Linked DNA regions of Homo sapiens: regions 2 and 3 are each linked to region 1. Evidence: promoter capture Hi-C in human tissues and cell types (Jung and others, 2019). All regions are on one chromosome and are shown on one strand. Each heading gives the region's core, a stretch centred on a gene start or on the middle of the fragment in contact. The rest is flanking DNA. Distances are from core to core; before and after follow the strand shown. Region 1 holds the start of TSNARE1 (t-SNARE domain containing 1). Region 2 has its middle 27 kb from the start of MIR1302-7. Region 3 has its middle 9.5 kb from the start of MIR1302-7.

Region 1 (3,720 bases), core at 539-3,038:
AAAAGCCACAGACTATGCAGGAAAAATGACTGCACTGTCAGGGACATAAAGCAGGGACTGAAGATGTGGCAGGAGCTGCTGGCAGGAGCCAAACCCAGGACCTCGCTCTGCAGGCCATGAGGAGCTGTGGAAGAGACTTAGGGACACCTGGCTGCCCATGAGCCCCTAGACTGAGTGCCTAGGTCTAGGCTCTTGACCCAGCATCTACAGAAGGCCAGACTCAGGGGAAGTGTCCAGGGAAGGTTCCTGGATAGAGTCAGAGCAGCCAGAGGCTGCCAGATGTTCATGGGGCCAGGCCAGCAGAGGAGGAGAGAAACAGAGGTGACCCAGCCAAAACTCAACCTCCTCCAGGAAGTCGTCTTGGATTTGCCAGCCTCCCACAGCCACCTGCATTCACGGCCTGTGCTGCTGTGTCCAAACATTTGTTCTACCAGATTTCTGCTGCGGTCCTGTGATGTATGGGGTCGAACGGTATGAAAGCAGCGGTTCAGTCGGGGGAAGCACTCCAGTACTAACAAACTTCAGCTTTCTTTCAACTCAATACTGTGTCCACACTGGGAGTATCCTAAGCAACAATCCCCACCCCTGTCTCACAGGCACTAAAGATAAAACAGAAAACAAGCAGATGAGTGACAATGACAAACAAGAAATACTGTAGGGAGAGCGGTCAGAAAGGTGAGCTCAGACATACCGGAAGCGGAGCTGCCCCCAAGCCAGGAGCGAGCCAGGAACTAAAAGAAGAGGCAAGTGTGCAGCAGAGGAAAGAAAGGGCGCCAGGTGTGGCTGGAAAGGCACCTGGCAGGATGAGGGGCGGAGAAGCACCGGCGGAGCAGCACGCGCGAGGCCCATTTTGAGCCGCACCACACCGCTCACAGAACTTCCTGTGATAAGCAGTGTTCCCTACCCGCGCTGCCCCACACAGCCGCCACCAGACACGTGTGGCTACTGAGTGTCGGACATGTGACCACTGGCACGGAGGACCTGAATCCTTCACGTTAAGGACAATGTAAACAGCCACACATGCCTAGGGGCTACCACACTGGACATGGCAGAGCTTCCAGAGCAGGAGGAGTGCGCCATGAGGCAACAAACACGAGGTCCCTGGAGAGTTTCTGCGGGGGCAGCACAGATCAACATCACCTGAAAGTCCCTGGTGGGGATGTCGCAGGCCCCAGTACCCAGGAAGCACCTTCTTACAACTTGGAGAAGGGACAGAAAGGCATGGAGAGGCAAGCACACAGGAACGGGGTCCCCAGCTCAGGCTCGAAGGCGGGCTCCGCTCGTTGAGCTGCAGGGCACCAACCCTTGCACCCAGCAAGTAGGCGCTGGGGCGCTCCCCGGGACGGCACTGACCTCCAGGCGCAGGCACCGGCTGCCCGGCCCAGAGCCCACCGACCTGGGGTCTGAACAGCGCGCGAGGACCCGCCGAGGGGCTCATGTGCCCGCGGGCCGGTCCCCGAAATGCGGCGCTCTCGCGGGGCTGCGGCTCAGGGTCCCTGGCGCCCCTGGGGTCCACCCCCGGCACGGTCCCGCCCCCTCCCCTCCCCACCGGCGCGGCCCCGCCCCCCGCCCGGCCTCCCGCAAGCCCCATACCACGCCACGCCGCGGCCCCCGCCGGGCTCCGGGCCCCGCGCTGGTCCCCGGCCGCCTCGCCCTCGCCGCCCCACGCCCGGCCCCGGCCAGGCCCCAGCCCCACCGCCGCCGCCTCACCTGGGCCTCGGTGGCTCGCGGACCGCTCCGGGCGCTCACGGCGGGCGAGGCGGGCGGGGCGGGCACCCAAACATCACGTGACGGCCCCTCCCGCCGCCGGCGTGCGCGCCCCCTCCCGCACCAGCCAATGGCCGCCGGTCCCGGACGCGCGCGGGGACTACCCGCCCCAGAGGCCCCGGCGCGGAGCCGGAAGCGGCGCGGACGGCGGTCGGCTGGGCCAAGAGGCCTCTGCGGGTGCGCGCGCGAGTCGGCTGTCCTCACTTGCCTGGTGGTGGGCCTCCGTTTCCCCGTTTCCCCGTTTTGCATATGGGGATGACGGCGAAGGTGGAGGTCACGTGGAGGGCGGCGGCCCGGCGCTGAGGCGCTTCGGGAGCGGGCTCCGCCCAGCCCAGGCCGAGCCCGGACCTCACACGGGCCAAAGCTGGAGCTTCTGCGGGGCTGCGCAGGCGGCGGGTCTCGGCCAGGGCAGGGCCGGGCACCTGCGCGTCTCGCGCTGCGGGGACGGGCGTTGGGCCCCAAGTCAGGCTGCACGGGCTCCGCGTGGGGCCGTGCTCGGCCGGGGGCTGGCAGGCCCCGCGGGGACTCCGGACTCCCAGTGTCACCAACGAGGAAACTGAGTCTCAAGACATCTGAGGGACCTTTGCCCGAGGTCGCAGCCCCTCCCTGGAGGAGCTGAAGTGCAGAGTAGGGAGCCCCTTGCGGAGACCCTCCTGGGACCTCCTTCCGCAGGGGCCTGGGGCGCCTCCCTTTCCCTGCTCTGCCTGCGGGCACTGAGCTCCCGAAAGACTCCAGCCCCTCGCTCTCCCGGTGACCTGCTGGAGAAGACACCTGGGAGGAACCTGCGGACAATGGGTGTGTGTCCTTGGGCCGCCAGGGTCACCTTTCAGCCTGTTTCCCCAGAGGTGAACCAAGAGTCACACCCAAGGCAGGAGAGCAAGAGTGATGAGTCCGCTGCACCTTCTCCGGCAAGCGGAGGTTCTCCCGCCGCCCTCACTCTGTGATGCTTGCTGTGCTTGCGAGGCCTACGCCAAAGCCCTGCGGGCAGCCCTGGGCTCCCGCGGACAGCCTTGCTGAGCTCCTGGGAAGGAGGCGTGCCCTCCCCTTCCCCCACCGCCCCGCTGGCTGGGGTTCTCTGCAGCCCAGGACTGTGCATGTGTGCGCACACGGGTTCTGTGAACACGAACACAAAAGTGTGCTCGTGGACACTGCGTGGTACTGTGTGCACACAGCGCACGTCTGTGAGCTGAGGGAGTGTTCCTGGACACCAGGTGCAAGTGCACAAGTGTGTGTATGCTGGCACAAGTGTGTGCCCAGGCGCAAACATGGGAACGGTAGTATATGGCACAAATGTGTGCACACATGGGTGGGAGGGAAGAGGGGCACATGCCCACCAGCATTCCTGGGCTGGTGCTCAGGCCGGCCTGTCCTGGGCCCACCCACGCTCCTTGCCTTGGTGTATTTCAGTCTCCCCTGGGCTCCCAGGAGGCAGTAGTGTGTGCCTGTCTTGCAGCCTCGCCATGATTTGGACAGGGCTTCACTCTTCGGCTAGGACAGCTAGAGTGCAGGGAAGCCGGCTCCTAACCAGGGAGGATGCCCATGACTGCTGACCCCCCAGCTTCCACTTGAAGGGGAAGGTTCGCCAGGACCAATGCCTGTCTGAGAGCTGTCAGTCTGGACTGAGGATGCCGGGTGCCTGGCACGGTGCCCACCTCCCCTTCCGTGGCTGGCGCTGTCTGTCTGGCCGCCACCTCACTCAGCCTCCTCTGACAGCTCCGTGTTCAGGTGTGCAAAGGAGGGGAAAGTGAAGCCCTTTCCTCCCAGGGCAGACCACCTCCAGGAGCCGCTTTCTTGACCATACAAGGCGTATATGGGGCTGTTTCTGTGCCTGGACACTGCAGGGGGAATGGTCTAGCGTGGGTAGGAACCACCAGAGGAGGGGCTCCGTACCTGTTGGCTCCTCCGAAATCTGGGATGAGCCCGCCTGAGTGCCCCACAGCAAGTCAGGGAAGG
Region 2 (3,720 bases), core at 838-3,337, 640 kb before region 1:
GCAGCACCATGGGGAGGGGAGGGCTTGGGGCAGGAATCGGGCAGGGCTGGGCTGGGTTGAGATCCAAACACTCGATAACCAAGACAAATGCTATTTTAACACCACACTTAAAAAATCCAAATTAACGCAAACACATTCAGAAGAAGCAAAATAACAAAATTTAAGATCAAGATAGCCTCCGTCAAGGCTGGGGGTAGCATAAGGCAGCTGAGGTGAGTTGTGTAAGCACAGGGTGGAGTCCTGTCTTCGCTGGAAATGTGGTTATTGAAATGTGTTATACTCTCGAATATCTCTGAGGGAGAAGATTTTAAGTGTTCTCACAAAACATAGTAGCCCTCCAGGGAATGCATGTGTTCCTGGGCCCCAGCTAGCCATTCCATGGTGCACTCATATTTCAAAGCATCATGCTGTATACCATAAACACATACACTTTTTAGTTGTCCATTAAAATTCATGAAAAAATCCAAAAAAAAGTTGATATTCAGGTCCTGATGCATTGGAAACACTGCATGAAATTATCACTCCTATTGGTCGCTGAGGGTTCTGCGTTTACCTCACCAGAGTCTCGGCCCTGCGGGATCCTATCCTTATAACAATTTGATATTTTGTTCACCTTGGAGTTTAAAAAAATAATTTTGTTTCCAAAAATGCATTGGAATAGTATTCGTCTGGATCACTGAGTTTTCTGGCACCTCCTTTGTAGGCAGACACCTGTCTCACTCACCTCACTGTTCCCAGCCCCGAGGGGAAAGCTCTGTGGGCACCTCTCACACCTCGGCTACTGGGCCTGAGGAAGGTGAAGGTCCTGGCATGGCCTCTAGCAAGGCTGGAACCCAGGCCTGGCTCTCATCTGCCTGGCTCACCTCACAGCCCTTCACTGCCAGCCTTTCCTTGCTTTCCTGACCTCCTCCTGTTTCCAGAACCATCTGGCAGCCCAGAGCCCCATCTCATTACCCTTTTTCTATCTGCCAGTGAGCACCGGCAGAGCTGGGCTTGTCCTCTGGCCTTGGCATTACCATCTGTATAAGGGGGTTCGTCCTGACCACCTTGCCTAGCCCTCTGGTTACTAGGAGGCTCAAAGGAGGTGGCAGGCATTTTAGAAACTCCAGGAGCTTCCAGCTGCAAGGCGAGCTCCTCATGACAAGAGGCACATGTCTCCTTCAATAAACATTCATTCAAAGGGATGCACGTGCCGGGGAGAGAAAGAGAGAAAGATCATTGGACTCTTGAGCACTCCATCCTCATCATGACCTCTGACCCTAGAGGCCTTTTAAAAGCTGCAGCTGCCTCTGGGCACAAGGCCCCAGTTCCCAGTCCCGTCTCTGGCTCCCACATCACATGCGGTACGTGCAGGAGGCTGCTGGGCTAGACCCCCAAGCTCAGGGCAGTGCCTGGCGCACACTGAGTGGGCGCTGCACATGTGGTGGCTGTGGCTGTCATCAGTAAGCCGTGGCTGCTGACGGCTCCTGCCATCTTCCCTTTCCTTCAGGTCCCCTGGGTTCCTGCCCTGTGTGGAGAGCCCCCATGCTCCGGCCGGGGATGCACCTGTCATGCCTGCACCTGTGGAAGGCCTCTCCCCTCCTCAGCTCTCCCTCCCCTGCACCTCCTCCTCCAATTTATTCATCTCTGTAACAGGCCTTCCCGCAAGCTGACTAGTGTGATAGATACGCTTGAATGGTTCTAATCCTTGTCAAGAGATTTGGAGTTGAATTAAACAGAGCAGATGAATTAACTACAGCCAGGGCAGGGGCTTTATCTGCATTTCAGAAACGGGGAACTGAGGGTTGCAGCGAGGGGCAGTGGAGGGGTCCAGAGCCTGGGGTCCTGACCCCAGTCTAGGTTACGTGCAAAGTCCCCTTCCAGCACCTGTCACTTTCCTTGGAGATGAGGTGCAGACGGGAAGGAGTTAACAGCCATGCTGCCTTCCTCAAAGCAATTAATTAAGGAATTGGAGAGGTAGGGTCTGGACAATTATGCCCTAGACAAAGGAGATGGAGGAGGCGGGGGCAATCACTTCAGGGAGCCTTGCGCTGGGAGATTAATAAGCGTTTGGCATTTGGACAGCACGCCAAGGCTCTGAGCAGCACTTCTGTCGGGCCCTGCTCCATGCTGGCCCTCTGGGAAATTCCTGGGGCACAGGTCAATGTTACCTTGGTTACCCAGGCCACCATCATGACCAGCGCATAGGCGGCATCAGGATGACCAGGCTCTGGGGACGCCTGGCTCGGCTAAGAGTGTTGACGGCTTCTATGTGAGGGCCGGGGCAGGGGTGAGCGGGGGCAGGGCTGAGAGAGCTGGGGCTTGCAGGCTCCAGACCAGACCCCAGCCCCATCCCAAGGCCACCCCATTATTTAGAGAAAGAGGAAGGCTTGACGTCCATCGGGCCTGGGCTCTGCCACTTACAGGGCAAACGGGGCTCTGCTTCCTCCTCCGCTGAGGGGGGATAACACCGGGTCCCCTGGACGGTGTGCAGTCAGAGAGTGGATGTGGGATAAGCCATCAGCCTGACCCTGGTGTTGAGAGAGACTTGCTCATGTTCTTTTCCTTCCCTCTTTTCCTCTGCAGCTTCCCCGCCACTGCCACCCGCTCCGAGGCATGCCCTCCACCACGGCCCGGCCGCAAGGCACCTCCACTGCCAGCCGCTTCCCACACGTGGGCCTCCAGCAGCTCCTGAGGCTCATCCCATCACATTCCACCCCACCGCAGGGCCCTTCTCCACCTCTCCCACCTCCGCCTTTTGGTTCCAGCCTCCTCCTCCTGGGAAACTCTAGAGGACTCTCTTCTTCCTCATCCTCATCCATCATCTAAAACATTCCTTTCCAAGTTCAGGAAATTCTTAATGAGAAATTGGCCCAGATTTGGGAAGGGTAGGTCAGGGGAGTTTCACTCATTCATTCATTCATTCATTCAGTCGCTCATTCATTCATTCACGCATTCATCAAAGAGTTCTGAGTGTCCTGTGGCCAGACTTGTTCCTCGTATTCACTGTCCCCTGGGGATGTCACGGCAGAGGAGCCCAGCTGTGCACTCACTCCTGCTTCATGGAACTTACATTTAAGGCGGGGTCCAAACAACATAGGTGGCAAAAGGCTCTCTTTATTGAGTTTTGGGTGAGGGCCAGTGCTGCCTGGGAGGACCAAGCCAGGAGGACTAAGCATGGTGGCAGCGGGCAGGGAAGGCTGCTGGTACAGAGCCGCGCTCCTTGGGAGAGGTGAGGAAGGGGCAGGGGTGGTGTTGGTATGAGGCTGAGGCTGCCACAGGGTGGACAGGAGAGAAGGCCAGAGTTGGGGGTGGCCCCTGAGTAATTCTGGGCTTCGCAGGCCATGGAAGGTGTTTGGATATACTCCTCAGTGCCACAGACGCTCCCAGGGACCAGGTCTCTGCCAGATAGGGCAGAGGGTCGCCCCCGGCGGGGATGATGGGCAGCCCAGCTAGTCCACGGAACAGAGAACGCGGCGCCGAGACCCCCTCGGGGTGTGAGAGCATCACAGTGATCCAAAGCAGGAGCAGTCCCCACCCGGCGGTGGTCAGCTTGGAGTGGTCAGACGGTGCCCGAGTTGTCCTCTGTCCTCTGTCCTCGCTGCAGACCCTCGCGGCCCCGGCCCCTGGGCTGCCGCAGAGCGCACCGGGCAGAGCGCACGGGGCGTGATGAAGCTGAGCTTCGAGGGGTGCTCAGCTGCCAGGGTCTGTGTGCCGATTGTGCCTTAGTGCTTGGCTCAG
Region 3 (3,720 bases), core at 618-3,117, 630 kb before region 1:
TTGGCAGGCGTGACTGCCATTGGCACAGGGATGGGACTGTGCAGGGCCCAGCAGCCCATGCAGAGAAGTCAGCCTGGGGAGGGGAGGGGTGAAGCTAGAGTTACATTTGAAGGCAGAATTTGGCTCCGTGTGAACAGATGGGGAAGGGGCAGGAGTGTGAGCTGGGACCTGGCTGGAGGCCTATGAGAGCCTATGGGAGTTTGCAGCAGCTGCAGCCAGTGGAGCCAGGAATACGTGGAAGGAAGCGGGATTTGGTTGTCTGCACCCCACGGAGGGATGAGGACCAAGGTGAGGTTGGGATTGGTAAGGGTACTCTGGTGGCCCCAAGCACGATTTGGACCTTGGACACTTTTTAGCATAATCCAGATGGAGAAGTTCCTTGGGCCTCTGCACGGGGGGCCAGTCAGATGATGACTGGACTTCAAAGCCAAAATCCACACACAAACACCATCTTTCTGTCCAGTGGATTTCTTCTGTGTCATCTTTAGCGGCAGGCAAGACAATTGTCCCCAGGCGACCAGGGGAGGACTTCAGGGTGAGGACCCAGGCAAATGCCTGCATGTGCCCAAGAGGAGACCCCATCGGGAAGCAGAGGATGAAGATCAGGAAGGAACAGAGGCAGCCAGATCCCGGCCCCGCATGCAGGGCAGGCAGGCTGGCTTGGTGGCCCACACTTCCCTGGGGAAGGAGTGTTCCGTGCAGCCTGAGGCCCTTGCTGAGAGGCCAGGGGTGGAGGGAAATGGCTCAGAGAGAGGGAACCAGCCTGCCAGGGGGATTTGCTGCAAAGCAGCCACACAGCGGTGAAGCAAAGCTAGTGGTATTTAGCTGTGTGTGGAAGGCTCATTTTTCTGCCAAGGAAAACAACAATTCTCCTGTCCAGAGTGTCCCAAACTCCTTGGCAACTGTGACATCCAGTTGCTCTTGGAAGCCATTGTGAGATGCTGGGTCTTATCTCCTCCCGGGGCTCTCTTATTTCACTCCGTGCTAACTGCTGCATTTAAGCTCTGGTAAATGATCACAACGTGGGCAAGACAGCTTGGCCTTCAGTGGCATTTATTTTTTCCTTCCTGGCCAAATGCTGACATATAAAACTCAATTTCATTTTGAAGAAAGGCAGGCGGCTGTGTGTTTGTTTAGACCCCTCTCAAAGACGAAGGGTCGTGGCAACCGCTTGAGCCTTCTTCCAGCTCAGGTGGGAGAGTTCAGCACGGCCAGCATGGCTGGAAGTTGGCCTGGTAGGGATCCTCGGAGGAGCGTGAATTAATGGGAAGGGGGGGTTCTGAATTCTGCAGACCCAGTCCTGTCTGCCCTTCCTGGACCCGGGCTGGGATCCTGGTGACCCTGTTGGATCAGAGCTGGTCCCTTCCCCACCGAGCCTCAGCTTCCCTCTGGGGGAGTGGCGGCTCTCTCATCTGGGGGGTGAACCCCAGAATCACAGCCTTGACTGCCCTGGCCCCACGAGGGCACAGCCTGGCTTGTGTGTCTGAAGGCCGGGGACCGCTCTGCTCCTCTCGATGTCTGTGAGCAGCTGTCGTCCTCTCCTCAACTCAGCTTTCCAATCAGCTGAGTGGAAAGGGGTGGCACCGAGGTTGTGCGGCTGTAACGAAACGACACCGAAAGTGCCGTTGGCCCCGAGCCAGGCACGGAGCGGGCCCTGATCACTGTGGTGTGTGTTTCCCGTCCTCTTGGTCTGAGTGGATGAAAATTTAAAGGGGCCCTCCCAGTGACGTCTGCAGCTCAGAGGCAGTAGACGATGCTGCGTGGCACAGGTTTGGGGAACAGTGAGTCCCTGGAAGGGAGCTGGGGCGGGGTATTCGGACCCCTCGGGCCCCTTGGACCTACATGGACCCCTCACTCCTCCTCAGCTCCTGCTTCCCTATCTTAGCGTCTCTCACAACCTGGCCTTTCTACACACTTTTGTTTTGCTTCCACTGGAGTAGATGGGAAGAGGGCTCTCTGCCCCCTCCCTGGGCTGAAATTTTACATCTATGCCCTCTACCGAGTGAGTTGACAGAGCCCCCACTGCGAGTGGAGGGCACGGCCCTGCCCACGGGTGCTGGGCTTGGATGTGAAACATGGCTCGGCCAATAGGACGTGGTGGAAGTGGGTCAGGGCCACTTTGGGGACACTGTTCATTTCCTCTCACCCCTCTGCTGCTCTGCCCTCCACTGCAAGGCCAGCAAGCCCTGCTGGCTACTGCCTCATCAGCCTGAGCCCAGAACCAGGCCCCGGAGGCCTGGGCGTGCCTGGCTGGGCCCAGGTGAGACCCGCAGACTCCTGTGCTTAGAAGCAAATGCCGGCCATTAGGAACCAGTGAGGCATGAGATTCATTGTCTGCAGCAAAAGCCGCCTAAACCCTGCAGACAGATGTGCTCCATGAGGCGGGAACCACGTCTGTCTTGTTTCCTGGCAGCTCTTTGCCCAGAAAAGTGCACAGAGCTCCACACAGTATTTGATGAATGAGTAAATGAATAAGAAAATGAGGCCAAAAGGAAGACATTGTGTTTCTGAAGTTGTACAAATAATGAGTGATGGATATTGCCTGGGTCTTTGGGGTCCCTTTTCTGGGGCGTTTCTTCAGTGCCATGTGACAGTGACGTGGTGAAAAGCACGGTGATGGGAAGAACTGAAGTTAGAAGTGCTTGTGTGTGTCTTCTCCCCTGGCAGCACCCCTCTGGCTCTCAGCAGGTGGCTGAGCCCTTGGGGGATTGGGAGGCCCCAGGGTCCGTGAGCTGATGTCTGGAGAGGCCAGAGCTGACCATGGAATGTCCATTTCTGCAGGAGACCTGGGAAGAATGAAACTTGCCCTGGATGAATATAAAATCTGATCTAATATTTTATAATGCTGACTTATGATTCAGATTTTACTTAGTGGTGGCATTTTAGGCACTTTCACTGAAGGAAGAACGGATTTTCATTGAGAGATGTGAAACCCACATTGAAACTGGTTCATTTGGCTGCCTGAGAAGGTGGAGGCTGTGGTGGTGGTGACGATGGTGGAGAAGTGGAACCAGGAGGAGGAGGCTGGATGCGGCACCAAGGCAGTGCCTGTCGCTGGGCCTGCACCCAGCCTGGTCGATGTGAGATGCTCCCTGCCTCCTGCACTGTGGGTGCCAACCCTCCTCCATGCATGGCCGAGATGCCCCTGCCCACTGCACTGCAGTGACCCCTCAGGTAGAGCCTTCATCCCCTCTCCTCCCACATGTAAGGAGCAGAGGCCTAGGAGGGGTGCATTCCCCAGGTGGAGAGCAGGCCTGGCATGGGCTCGGGGGACTGGGCTCCTGTGACCTTGGTCATCTCACTTGATCGTGCCCCAGGCTCCTTGTTGTAAAGCGGGGACAATAATGGACCCACCATCCAGGACTGTCCTGAGGGCAAAGTGGCTAAGCCCGACCACAGTCCAAACATGTCCCCAAACCTCCATGTGCTGGAAGCTTAATTGCCAAAATAACAGTATAGAGAGGTGGGCCTTTATGAGTTGACCTGGGCATGAGGGCAGAGGCCTTGTGAGTGGATTAGAGCCTTTATCTCGGGGTGAGTTCTCACGAGAGCAGGTTGTTCTGCGAGCAAGCTGGGCTGACTCTTGTGGTCTCTGTCACGCGCACTTGCTTCCCCTCCCACTTTCCTGCTGTGTTTGAAGACAGTGTGAAAGCCTGTCTAGAAGCTGCTGCCCTGCCCTTGGACTTCCCGGCATCCAGAACCCGAGCCAAAAAAAGTTCA

The links. Contacts are between HindIII fragments. The study calls those that stand out against the background at their distance.
Region 2: a fragment that was not itself captured here is called in contact with the fragment with the promoter of TSNARE1 in region 1 in 2 of the 25 tissues and cell types used here (dorsolateral prefrontal cortex and lymphoblastoid cells).
Region 3: a fragment that was not itself captured here is called in contact with the fragment with the promoter of TSNARE1 in region 1 in 4 of the 25 tissues and cell types used here (IMR-90 fibroblasts, dorsolateral prefrontal cortex, mesenchymal stem cells and 1 more).

Annotation. Positions count from the first base shown.
Region 1 is chr8:142,401,394-142,405,113 of GRCh38, forward strand. TSNARE1 (t-SNARE domain containing 1) reads right to left here and starts at 1,789. Exons shown (of 14, transcript NM_145003.5): 1 at 1,711-1,789. RefSeq lists silencers at 1,348-1,487, 1,628-2,197, 2,638-2,687 and an enhancer at 1,919-2,694. The HindIII fragment of the contact is 11,624 bases long and covers 1-3,720 here.
Region 2 is chr8:141,757,151-141,760,870 of GRCh38, forward strand. No RefSeq gene overlaps it. Among named protein-coding and RNA genes, the nearest start is that of MIR1302-7, 27 kb to the right of the region's middle. The HindIII fragment of the contact is 7,477 bases long and covers 1-3,720 here.
Region 3 is chr8:141,774,949-141,778,668 of GRCh38, forward strand. No RefSeq gene overlaps it. Among named protein-coding and RNA genes, the nearest start is that of MIR1302-7, 9.5 kb to the right of the region's middle. The HindIII fragment of the contact is 7,354 bases long and covers 1-3,720 here.